Regions from separate parts of the Homo sapiens genome. Here region 2 is linked to region 1. The links are contacts of gene promoters, found by promoter capture Hi-C in blood cells and fetal thymus (Javierre and others, 2016). All regions are on one chromosome and are shown on one strand. Each heading gives the region's core, a stretch centred on a gene start or on the middle of the fragment in contact. The rest is flanking DNA. Distances are from core to core; before and after follow the strand shown. Region 1 holds the start of USP31 (ubiquitin specific peptidase 31). Region 2 holds the start of RBBP6 (RB binding protein 6, ubiquitin ligase).

Region 1 (6,658 bases), core at 3,813-6,312:
ATATCTGAATGAAATAACGATGTCCACCCCAAGCAGGCGAAGCACAGTGAGGTATGCCTCAGGTCCACCTTCTGGTGTTTACCTTTCTTTTTTTTTTTTCCTTTTTTTGAGGCAGAGTCTCACTCTGTCACCCAGGCTGGAGCGCAGTGACATGATCTCTGCTCACTGCAACCTCCACCTCCTGGGTTCAAGAGATTCTCGTGCCTCAGCCTCCCGAGTAGCTGGGATTACAGGTGTGTGCCACCACGCTCGGCTACTTTTTGTATTTTTTTAGTAGAGATGGGGTTTCACCATGTTGTCCAGGCTGGTCTGGAACTATTGGTCTCAAGTGATCCACCCACCTTGGCCTCCCAAAGTGCCGGGATTACAGACATGAGCCACTGCGTCCTGCCTTAGCATTCAACTTTCTTTATATTCAAAATAATACCCATCAAATTTAGCTAAAATAAAACCTTTTTTTAAAAAGTAATCAATTTGCCAGAGTTACCTAACCGGGGGAATAAAAAGGGGAAAAGAATCTAATTATATCACTTCCTTGCTTAAAAATCACCTCTGGATTTTCAACTTGCAGAGGATGAAATCCAAACCAGCATAGCTCACGAAGCCCTTCACAGTGAGTTTCCAACACTCTTCTCCCAGGCTTCCTGCACCCCCACTGCTCTCTATGGTGCAGCCAGCCACTAAATGTCTATTCCCCAAAACCACACGCCCTTTCATGCAACTCCACCACTTCCTTGCCCTGCAAATTTCTATTCATCTTTCAGAACACTGCTCAGGAGCCACCTTTTTGGTAATGCTTTCCTTGTTCCTTGATGCCTGCTATACACAGGATGGTCCTTGAGCCAAAAGCACTGGCATCACCAGGGAGCTTGTTAGAAATGCAGAATCTTGGGCACCGCTCCAGCTCTACCGAATCTCAATTTCCTTTGTAGCAAGATCCCCAGGTGAATTATGTGCACACTGACGCATGAGAAGCGCTGTCTCAGGGAACTTCCTAGATCCTACTCGACTCAGCTCTTCATAGCTCCCTGGGAGGTAAACCCCTCCTTTACTCATCTCCTCTGTGAAGACAGGAAAACCCAAATGCCCACCCTCCAGCCTCCGTGACAGCCAATTGACATGGTTATAGCCAATGAAATATCAGCAGAAGCCTGCTGAGGGGGCTTCTGGAAGAATTTTTATTTCCCTAATGACTTCCTGCCGTCCTGGGTAGAATGCCAGGTGCAGTGGCTGCCATCACTGGACAACCATGAGGTGACAAACCTAAGAACAAAAAGCCAATGATAGCTAAAAAGACAACAGGTGGAAATACAGAAATGGTCTGAATCCTTGTTGGGCCCAACGAGCCACTGAACCATAGAACCATCCACCTCCGGAATCACTGTGTGTGCCAATTGCCAATTGCAACGTTTTCATTGCTTAAGGCACTATCATTAGGGATTTTCCTTTCTTGGGCTGAAGGCATTCCTAACTGATTAAGTAAGCCTTCAATAAATGGGAGGTGAATGAATGAATGTAGAGTGAAACCTACTAAAGGTTCAGGAGATTACTTTTAAAAAGCCAGGCCTCTAAGAATCTGTTCATGTCTGCCAAAGCATGCCTATAAATCAGTCTCTGTACTTCTAGAATTATTGACCCATTTCTGTTCACAGCTTAATGGATAAAAAAGTGAACACAAACTCATAAAAAGCAATGGAAATGTTCACATACAAAGATGCTGTAGAAACTGATTTTCACATTTTGGAAAAGAGGAGAAAACCAAACTTAAATACTAGGCTCTGACCTCGAAAAGTTTACAAATGCTGTGGCTACTTACAGGCAATTGTAAGCAAAGAGGGGCAGTGTGGGGTGGGGGGCGGGGGGTGGACCTACAGTAGTCAGTTCTCCTGATCATTCTCCCTTTCTAATTTTGAGATCTCAGCTGGGCACGGTGGCTCACGCCTGTAATCTCAGCACTTGGGGAGGCCGAGGCAGGTGGATCAAAAATTAACTGGGCATGTAGCGGGCGCCTGTAGTCCCAGCTACCTGGGAGGCTGAGACAGGAGAATTGCTTGATTGAACACAGGAGGCAGAGGTTGCAGTGGGCCGAGATCAGGCCACTGCCCTCCAGCCTGGGCGACAGAGTGAGACTCCATCTCAAAAATAATAATAATAATAATAATTTTGAGATCACTGACATAGATCTTTTTTTCCAGTCCCTATCTCAGTCAAGTACTTCCATTCAAATTGCCAAGATCAAACAGCAACGATTTTTTTCCAAGAAAAACAGCATTGAGCAGCATAAGATGTAAGTAAAAAGTATTAAACGGGGAGAGATGCACACTGGCCATGTAGTTCGTCAGCAAGAAAGCAGGACCTTAACAAAGCAGATCCTCAGCTAGATGACCTTTTCATATTTTAACAAAATCATCTCCTTTTACTTAAATGTTGTTATAAAGAAGCTTTATAGCACCAATGGGAAACCAGTACCTTTTGCCATGAATTGAAGACAAATGGAAACCCAATAAAAACATAACCTTATTAAATTCTAGCTACTGTTACCTGCCAATGCTTCTAGACTTGAAGCTTGTTCTGTTTAAAAAAAAAAAAAAAAATGGGTGGGGGGTGAACAAGAGGTATTAAAAACAGGCTAACATCAAGCTGAGACTTCGTCCTGGGCAAGATTAGGATAGGAAAAAAAAAAAGGAATTAACCTTCTCCCTGTGTGACTTCACGCTGTTTTTGTTTTGTTTTGTTTTTACAGATAGAGTTTCCTGTTGCCCAGGCTGGAGTGCAATGGCACGATCTCGGCTCACTGCAACGTCCGCCTCCCAGGTTCAAGCAATTCTCCTGCCTCAGCCTCCTGAGTAGCCAGGATAACAGGCATGAACCACCACGCCCGTCTAATTTTGTATTTTTAGTAGAGATGGGGTTTCTCCATGTTGGTCAGGCTGGTCTCGAACCCCCGGACCTCAGGTGATCCACCCGCCTTGGCCTCCCAAAGTGCTAGGATTACAGGCATGAGCCACTGCGCCCCGCCCGATTCCATGCTGTTTAATACCATATTCATGTCCCACCTGAAAGTATCCCTTACACAATCTCACATCATGTTCCCCTTCTGCTTAGAGTAACCGCCCAATTTCTTAGTGCATCCTAAATGGTCCCATACCATCCGGTCCCAGCCCACCACTCGGCTCTCAAATCTCACCCTCTCACTACACTTGCAGCCCCACCAGCAAACAGCAAAGGAGGGCTTGGCCAAGGGCCATACATACCCCCAGGGATGTATAGCTCACCCCTGTAATCCCAGCACTTTGGGAGGCCAAAGCGGGGAGAGTGGCTTGAGGACAAGAGTTCAAGACCAGTCTGGGCAACACAGCAAAACCCCCGTCTCTACAAAAGTGTTTTAAAAATAAAAAATAGGTAGGTATGGTGGTGTGTGTCTGTAGTCCCAGCTATTAAATACTCTGGAAGGTGAGGCGGGAGGATTGCTTGAGCCCAGGAGTTTGAGGCTATGTGAGCACTGCACTCCAGCCTGGGCAACAGAGCAAGACCCTGTCTCTAAAAATAAAATAAAAATAAAAAGTAGCCTGTCAGCACATCAATCACAGCAGCAGGTTTTTCTTTCTTCAAACCACTATCTGATATTATCTCGTTAACTTCTTCAAGTCTTTAATAACAAAAATAATAGCAGCAAATACACATGATATGGAAGTATTTTACTTATCAGGTTGAACCCTATAAAAGTGCCAATCTGTAAATAAAAAACGGTTAAATATGGGTAATTCCACAGTGTTCGATTTAATATATTAACTTGTTTGCAGCTCACAACCACCTTACAAAGTAGGTCCCCCAGATGAAGAAACTGTAAGAACAGAGAGGCTGCTTAACTTACCCGACGTCACATTGCTAGTAAGTGGCAGAACCAGGATTTGAACCCATGCTCAACACTCCCACCCCACAAAAATGCAAGTTCCATGAAGGCGGATAGTCTTGTTCATTGCAACGTCACTCCCATTGCCTATTATCACAGAGTATGGGCACGTATGTAGTAAGTTCTCAATAAATACATGTTTGAGTGAGTGAGTGAGTGAATAAATGAATGAATGAATGAATCTCCTTAAAATCACTGGTCGACTGCCCAGACCACTCGGAGCAACCAATGCAGAAGCCTGCCGGGCCAAGAGGAACCGAGGGAAGGAAGACCTGGGCGGGCAGGTGCCCCAGGGGCTCGGGGTGCAGTGGGGGCGCGGCGGCGCGCGGGCTCACCTTGAAGTCGCGGCTGTGCTGCGGGGTGTACTCCAGGGTCCAGAGGGCCCGCACCAGGTGCGCCAGCTGCTCAGTGACCTCGCCCTGGCCCTGCGCGCCGCGGCCCGCAGGCTGCTCCGGGTCAGGCGAGGGCTCGGGCCGCCCCGCCCGGTACTGGCCCAGCGCCAGGTACTCGGCGAAGAGCTCGGTGTTGCTGAGGCACTGCAGCGTGGCGTTCATGAAGCACGTGTTGCCGTGGTTGCGGAGCCCCGCCACGCCGGGCACCGGCTCGGCGGCGCAAGCGGGCGGCGCGGGAGAGGCGGGCGGCGGCGGGCACGGCGGCGGCGTGGGCGCGGCGGCCGGCCCGGGCGGGAAGCAGCTGCGGAGGCCGCCGCGGTCTGGGGCGGCGCCCTCAGAGCTAAGGTGCGAGAGCGTGGACAGCGTCTTGAGAACGCGGCTCATGAAGCTGCCCACCGAGCGTGCAGAGGAGGGCGAGGAGGGCGAGGAAGGCGCGGCCGGCCCGGACGCCCCGGGGCCCCCCGCGCCGCCGCCGCCAGCGCGGCCGCTCCGAAACAGCCGCTTGCTGAAGGAGCGCTTCTCCTTCCCGCTCGCCGCCGCCGGCGGCCCGGACCCAGGCGCCGTTACCTTGGACATGGCGGCGGCCGCAGACACTCATCACCGCGCCCGCCCGCCCGGCCCGCGGCCCCGCCACGGCCGCCGCCGCATCCCGCAGCGCCGCGCCTCACCGGGCCCGGGGGCTCGACGCCCCACACACCTCAAAGCGCAGCCGAGCCAGCGAGCGAGCGGCGGCCGGCGGGGCCAGCGGGCGCGCGCGCGGTCCGCCCAGCTGAGCCGCTCACGTGACGTGCCTCCCGGCGCCGCCCGCCCGGCGCTGAAGCCGCCTCGGCCGCCATGTTCACTGTGGGACGGTAGCTGCCTCTCCAGCCGGACGCGATGCCTGGAGGCTGCGGGCGCGGTCCTGCTGCGTGAAGCCCGAGGGAGGCCATGTCTAGTGTGGGCGCCGTCCCGGCTTGGAGGAAAAGGCTGGGCTCCCGTTGGATGGTGGATCCCCGGGGTGGGTCTCTGTCTTTGCTGGTCAGATGGCAGAGGCGGGAACGTGCAGGAATCAGGATGCTGTCAGTTACCAGACCGTGCAAGAGCTGGTGGACATGGCCCTGACAGGTCCTGGGCAAGTCAGCCCTGTCTGGCTCCCAAGGGACGTTGCAGATACCTACCCTCTGGGTGCCAGCGGAGCGCAGTCACAGACCCTGGCACGTCCCAGCGGGCTTTTCTTCCTGGCTGCACCTTGGAGTCCCAGCGAAACGCTGTTATCATAACTACTTTCCTTTTCATTCCAGCCTTTAAAACTCCTCCGGGCTCTCCCATCATTCATCATTCCATTCATTCATTCACTCACTCATTCATTCAGCAGTTACTGGGGATATTGCAAAGAATTAAACCTATTAAATTAGAATCAAATGTCATATCCCCAGCGGATTAAATTAGCACGGTTTCTACCTGCCCTCTTGCAGCTTACATTCCTACTGGGTGTTTACAATAGCTGTTGTGTTCCACACATTATGCCAAGCATGCAATATTTTCTTTAATCTTTAATTCACCGTCTTTGAGATTGGTACAGTTCTTATCTGATTCAAACCCAAGTTTTATTTACAACCCCTATACTTGACCTCTAAACCAAAGGTCACGAATCCACAAATATCACAGGTCACAAACCCACAAATGAGTGAAGAATCCTGGTGTTTGAATCATCATATTGACTTTCAAGTGACTTGGGTCTCAGTGTTGGGGGAAATATAAGGAATGATGGGGACTATAGCAGACTTCAAATTAACATCTTTCTAAAGAGGTGGCTGCCACTCAGCTCCAGCCAGTTGTTCCCATGTGAGAACAGGAGCTCAGCGTTACCAGATCATCTGATGTTTTAAGAGAAGGCAGAAATCCTATTTTTAAACGTTGGTTCCATTAAAAAAAAAATAGTGCAGGGAGCAAAAAATAGTACATCTTTGGGATGCCTTTAGTCCAAAATCAACTAGTATATGACCTCCTCTCTATAGGCTCCCCTCTGCTAAAAGGGCTAGTCTGAGTCCTGAGGCAGAAGAGAGAAATCAGAGAAGGGAGAGCCCTTCCTCCTTTTTAAAACATGAAGGCCACCTTACACCACGTTTCAAAGTAAATGGTTTTTACCTTTGACCTCCCTCCCCAATGTAAGTAGGGCTCTATGATGACATCTCCAGGGTGCTCTGCACTGTCCCTAATCGGCTCCACTCTCCTCTTAGTCAAAATTCTTATCTGGACACCAGGAAGAAAGCCATCTGATTATTCACACTAAAATGTGAATGCAATGGCCCTCAACTTCTGGGCAGTTTGATCTAGACTCGAGGGCCTTTGCTGGAGCCGTTCCCTCTCCCTT
Region 2 (6,378 bases), core at 612-3,111, 1.4 Mb after region 1:
GCTGATTAAATTAGGCATTCAGTATATAAAGGGGTCGGCCACAGACGGGCAAAAGGAACAGATTCACCGCTTCGGAGTGAATTCCATGACGGCTTGCAATTTTCTCGTCGAGTTTTTCTTTCACTAGAGATAGCCCTCGCCCTTTCATTCACACAGAGGCTTTTAAGAAAAAAGCAACCAACCTGAAGAGGACCTGGCAGCAATAAGTTTTTGGTGAAATAACAAAGAGGTAAAAGTGGAAGAAACTTGTTATATATGAAAAGTACTGATGTGTGTGGTTGAGTTAAATTGTAATGGTATCTCTAGAGCTGCCCTTGACTACGGCCAAAATTTTATTGCCACGACATCTCTATGGATCACGTAAAAATGTATCCAGTTATTCAGCACGTATTTATTGAGCACCTACTATGTTCTAAGAGCTGAGGATACAGCAAAAACAAATATAAAGATAAGATTCCTATTGTCAGCCGAAGGTAGGGGTTGGGGGAGATAGATAATTAAAAAGTAAATGTGTAACTGTCAACTATCTGCAAGTGCTAGGAAGAAAAGACTAAAGGGATAGAGAAAGATCGCCATCTTATTTTAAAAAGATGGCCTTAGGAAGGCTTTTCTGGCAGGATGGTGATTAATTTTAAATCAAGTTCAGTAAGAATTTGGAGTGTGCTTGCAGGAAGTCCCTGGGAAACTCTGCTACTTCTCGGCTATAGGATCTTATTCTCAGTTGCCTAAATTCACTGAGCCTAGCCTGTAAAATTCAGAGAGGATGAGGAACATGGATTGTAAACGATAATAACTATCGTTTATGAATGTAATTTTATTATATTATGATTTTTTCTGAATGTAATAACGTCCCCATGCCCAAAGGAAAAAAAAAATTCCAATCTACTGAGGGGGTTCTTGTCACTGTTCCTGGCATTTGCGCTTAGGAATGGAATCGGGACCCTGCCACTGAGCAGGCATCCCCTTCTGCAAATTCAGAAAGTACATGATTGCTAGCTTCAGTTCCATCATCTATAAATCGGAAATAATGTCATGTTGACCACGTAGGGTTTTTGTTGTTAAATTGACATTTATTGAGCTACAGCTATTAATATTTCGGTGCATTGAGCCACGTCAATGCACCGGCATGGTCTTAGACTATGGATTTATGTGCATTTATTTAATCCAAGTAAACCAAGTACTATTTTTAATGGCATTTTACAGCCAAGGAGACCCAGGCACAGAGGGGTTAAATCTAGAGCCCCCACAGCCAGGGATCCAACCCAGACAACGTGGCTGCTGAGCCTGGCAATGTTGTTATGCGATCAGCCCTGTGCCTAGCACATAGTAAGAGCTCAATAAATCTGTATGGTGCTGGTGGCTGTTATCAGTTCTTGGCAGCGGCTGCTCCACGATTTCCACTTGTCAAGAGTATAGGGTAGCCAGTTTATTGGAAGCAGCAGCTAGGGAGCGCTTGCATAGCAACCATAGTTTTCTGCGTAGCAACCATAATGCTCACTTAAATTGGGAGGCTTAGAGGAGCTGACGGGGCCTGTGGGGAAGGGGGAGTTAGCCGGCCACCCCTAGGCAAGCCACTTTGCAGTGGAAACTGCACGCAGCCCCTGCAAGGCGAGCTCTCCCCACCGAGCCTCCCTGTGAGCCGGTCCTCCTGACGCGCAACCCCCCTCCCTTTTGAAGCAGATGGTTCTTCCCGTTGTCCCTGCTCTTTCAGTTTCCGCGCTTTGGAGTCACAAAGCGCGGGGTCACGTGGGCGGGCCGTGCGCTTTGTGACGTCAGCCGCCCCGCCTCTCGGCCCGCCTATCCGCGCACGCCAGCCCCGCCTCGCGCGCGCCGCCCGTGCAATCCCTGCTTAAGAGACCCCGCAGTGGGGCGCTCGTCCGAAGCCAGGCCGCGTCCGCCATAGTACCTGGCTTGGAGGTGTCGCCGCCGCTCGGTGAGAGCCCCCGAGCGGCAGGGGGCCAACACAAAAAGGGAGCCGGAGAAGCCCTAGCCGCTGCCCAGCAGCTTGCGGGCGTGTTCTCGCGGTTCCGGGCCTCAAGGCGACGGAAACGAAAGGCGAGCGAAGCGCGGAGGATCCGGCGAGAAGAAGCGTCAGGGAGCCTCGGCGGTGTCCCCGGGGTCCGCCGAAGCCACCCGGCCGCCGGCTGGGGCCCGGGGTGGTGAGGAAGTGCTCCGAGGCCTCGCCGAGGCCTAGCGCCGGCTTTGTGTCCGAGGCGGCGGCGGCGGCGGGGGGAGGCGGAGCCGGGGGCGGCCTGCGGGAAGGCCTCTCCTCCGCCGACCGCGCGTTTTCGGCCTAGGCCGTGGGGCCGCTCGTGGCCTCCGGGGAGCAGGCGCCAGGGGTTTGTGTGCGGTGGGGGCCTGGGCCTGGGCCTGGGGAAGCTGACGCCGGTCGTCCGGAAGCCAGGAGGAGGCGTGAGGCCGCTCGTGGACTCCGGGCCTAGGCCCTCTCCCCTCAACCTTCTCCCGGGGCCTGGGTCACCCCAATCCACGGAGAGAGAGACCCGCCGGGAGGTGCGGCCGCGCTATGGACCCCTGACCCCGTGGGGTCGCTCGGACTCTTAACGTGTGGACTGACCGCTACTGACTGCACCGCCAATCCCCCCGTCTCTGCCGGCCCCTTAGCATGAGCGAGGGGGACCCAGCCGGGTGACATTGTGCCCGTTGGCGGATTCTCGATTTCCCCTCTTCCCCGTCCTCGTCCTCCTCCTCCCCCATGAAGTGATTCTGAGTATCGGGGGGTCTCTGGATTATTGTTCTGACGAACCCCTGCTTGTGGTTGGGGGGTATTTAATCTGAGGCCTTAGGGTCCTTCGGTGTCTTTGAGTGTTTTGTGTGTACATATTTTGCTCTTAAAGTTTATAAATATACGTATATTGAGAGTGTCCACGTCTCCTCGCTGAACCTTAGGAATCCCTTGGCACCATGTCCTGTGTGCATTATAAATTTTCCTCTAAACTCAACTATGATACCGTCACCTTTGATGGGCTCCACATCTCCCTCTGCGACTTAAAGAAGCAGATTATGGGGAGAGAGAAGCTGAAAGCTGCCGACTGCGACCTGCAGATCACCAATGCGCAGACGAAAGAAGGTAAGGGCCGCTTGGTCTTAAGATATTTGGTGGCTGGAGAGAGATACTAGCTAGAAGGTGCCTGGCAGGAAGCTAACCGCCATTATGTCTCTAGTGGGGACTGTTCGTTCTAGTACTTTGGATACAACTTTCATTGATAGCCAAGGTTTGCAGCAGTTGGCCTTGGAGTTTCACTGGTTTATTTTATTTCTGCATACTTGGGTCATCTGTAACAGGCTAACCCAAAACGTGGAAGCCTGATTATTCTTCTCGCTGTTTTTTAAAATGAGGGAGGGAGGAGAGGGGGATAGCTATCTAGACTCTTTGAGTGCTTGTCTTAGGGCGTTTTCTAACTTATTTTCCATCAGGAGGGCAGGAGAGCCTGTGCAAAGCTTGTTTGTTCAATCAGCAAAAAAAAAAACAAAAAAAAAACCAAAAAAACAATTTTCTAACCTAACAACATTGTGGAGTTTGATGGCAAATTTTATGTCCTGCCTTCCTCCCTCCTCGCATTTATTTATTTGGAGTTGCTTGCCTGTGTTGTGGATAAGGGATCTGAACTTTAATATTTTTGAGGATTTAATCAGTATTGGAATTGTTTTTGGATCTTGAAATGTTCTGATGTCACCGCTCTTGTCTTGTGTGTCAATTCCAGAATTAGTAATACGGCAATTAAGTAGTTAAACTGTTAGTTCATCACATTACTCTTAAGCTTTATCAATTCGGTGAAGATCAAAAGTACTGATTTTTTTTAAAGTAGTAGTTGCTAGATTTTACGTGACTGTTGATACTAAGGTACTGAAAAATAGGCTGCTACCATAGAGTACAAATAAGCCACTGATAAGAATCGTTAGATTCTTTCTCCTTTTCAAAAGTATTTTGATAATATTGGGAACTTAACAGTAGATAAATGTGACAAGCAGTCTTTCCTGACTCTGAACTTGTTTTGGTTTCTTTTTCTCAGATCAGTAATGCTGATGTGTATTTTTTAGCAGTTCGGTGTTCTAAAAGTTACTGATGGAATGAGAAGAAGTGAAGTTACAATTAGGTTAGGGTATTTTTTTAGTCACTAAATTTTTATCACACTTAAGGTGTGACATGGATTCTTTTAGTTGAAATGGGAGGTCCCCCACCTCCAGCCTGTAGTTTAGGTAGAGTAAATCTTGTCATGTAGAAGACCAGTTTTCCATTTACAATGCAGACCTAAGTATAATTGTATTAGGTTAAGGAACAGCAGTGCTGGCATATCATGACTCAAAAATATTAAGGAAGAATTTATTTGCTCAAATGATATTATGTGAAAATACTGTCTGCTTCCCCACCTTTTAAAAACAAGTGTCATACCCTTTGATAATTGGAGCTATGTGTAATCCTCTGCCTAAGGAGAGGAAAAACTGGTGGTGGTCATGAACAGTTGAGAAATAGCTTTATTTAAGTGCCTCACAAGCATCCCTTAACTACAACAGTCACATTTCACAGAACAGATGGGTTTATAAGAAGTTTGGGCCATCTTGACATATTGAGTATTTATGAATGAGAGGAGAGACAATATGAATGGAATTAAAGGATATTAAGGCAATTTTAATCGTCATATATTCAGGTTTCATATTTTACTGGAGTATTACACAATCGAATCATTAGGGCTAGGCGTTATCCATCTTTTCGACCCAACAATTGAATGCAGCTTTTTTTTTTTTTTTCCCCTGAAACAGAGTCTCACTCTGTCACCCAGGCTGGAGTGCAGTGGCACCATCTTAGCTCACTGCAACCTCCGCCTCCCTGGTTTGAGCGATTCTCATGCCTCAGCCTCCCAAGTAGCTGGGACTACAGGCATGCGCCACTACACCCAGCTAATTTTTTTTTGTATTTTTAGTAGAGATGGGGTTTTGTCTTGCTGGCCAGGCTGGTCTCGAACTCTTGGCCTCAAGTGATCCACCCACCTGGGTCTCCCAAAGGGCTGGGATTACAGGCATGTGAATGCAACTTTAGACTGGGTAAGTTATAGTTAAAAGAATCCTGTCCGGAAATTTAAGAGTTTTGTGACTTTGTGTAACCAATTTTTTTTTCCTAGCCCAGGAAATAAATGATACGTAATTCAAACCCAGAAAGCCAGGAATGTGTTTTTGCCCAGCACATTTTCTTTTTTATATTTATGTGAACTGCCCTTTATTGGAGAAAGCTTTGATGTTCGGTTTGTTAAGAAAAGGGAGCTTTGAGGGAGAAAATGTGTATTTTATGCAGTCCTCAAATTAAGAGAGAAAGAGATATTGATGGTAGCTACTTAACTAGTTTTATGGGAAATAGTATCCAATGTCACAAGGCAGTTGAGTAGAATGCCATTTGGTTTTAGCACCGATATTCAACATATTTACTAAAGAAAACTATGGTAATCTTTTTATCACAGTTAAGGTCCAGTTTCTTAATTTCATTCTTATAATTTTAAAATCCCTAATCTACCATGTTTCTGTAAAACATTTCCTTACAGTTTTGGAATTATGTGCATGTTTAGGTCCCTTAAATCTTTTTTTTTTTTTTTTTTGGAGACACATCCTCACAGGCTAGAGTATAATGGCACAATTTTGGCTCATTGCAGCTTCAACCTACCAGGCCCAGGTGATCCTCCCACCTCAGCCTCCCAAGTAGCTGGACTACAGCCACACACCACCATGCCTGGCTAATTTATTGTAATTTTTTTTTATTTTATTTTGGTAGAGATGGGGATTTTGCCATGTTGCCCAGGCTGGTCTCCTGAGCCCAAGTGTTCTCCTGCCTTGGCCTCCCAAGGCCATCCCAAAGTGCTGGGATTATAGGCTTGAGCCACTGTGCCTGGCATAGGACCCTTAAATCTTGATAAGACTGAAACGCTTGGGTCAGAATTCCATGGATTTTAGACAAGAATCCTGCTTGTTTCTAGACTGTATTTCAAAATGAATATCAAGTAATCTTTGTTATATATGAGAAACTTTTCTGCACACCGACCCCTAAAAAACAAAACATCCTTCGTTCTGAAATTAAAGTGTGAGAGGTTTGGAAGCTGAATATGAAGTGTTTATAAATGACCCTTGTCACCTTTCTTACTCTCCATTTCTCGGATTCATTCTGTTTTTCATTTCATCCATGCCTTTCATGTCTGGGGTCAAAAAAACTGGCAAGCAGAAAGGGTCTTTTGAAGCCAACAGACTACTTGTTAAGGAGGTATTTTAAATGAAATACCCCCAAAGTGTCTTTATTACCCCTAGAAAGATACTTTGAGGGGTAAGAAATCATTGTAATTCAGGTATTTAAAAAGTCAGTTAGAACATCTGTTTTGA

What was found. Contacts are between HindIII fragments. The CHiCAGO score rates a contact against its expected background, and 5 or more counts as called.
Region 2: a contact is called between the fragment with the promoter of RBBP6 here and the fragment with the promoter of USP31 in region 1, in 1 of 17 cell types (non-activated CD4 T cells). The highest score is 5.9, in non-activated CD4 T cells.

What each region holds. Positions count from the first base shown.
Region 1 is chr16:23,144,390-23,151,047 of GRCh38, forward strand. It overlaps USP31 (ubiquitin specific peptidase 31), which reads right to left and starts at 5,063. Exons shown (of 16, transcript NM_020718.4): 1 at 4,249-5,063. The coding sequence starts at 4,881. RefSeq lists silencers at 4,204-4,433, 4,564-4,663, 4,764-4,813, 4,964-5,063 and an enhancer at 5,244-5,463. The HindIII fragment of the contact is 4,661 bases long and covers 2,564-6,658 here.
Region 2 is chr16:24,537,705-24,544,082 of GRCh38, forward strand. It overlaps RBBP6 (RB binding protein 6, ubiquitin ligase), which reads left to right and starts at 1,862. Exons shown (of 18, transcript NM_006910.5): 1 at 1,862-3,088. The coding sequence starts at 2,923. RefSeq lists enhancers at 1-98, 1,525-2,519, 2,520-3,512 and silencers at 1,809-1,858, 2,129-2,308. The HindIII fragment of the contact is 3,955 bases long and covers 1-3,457 here.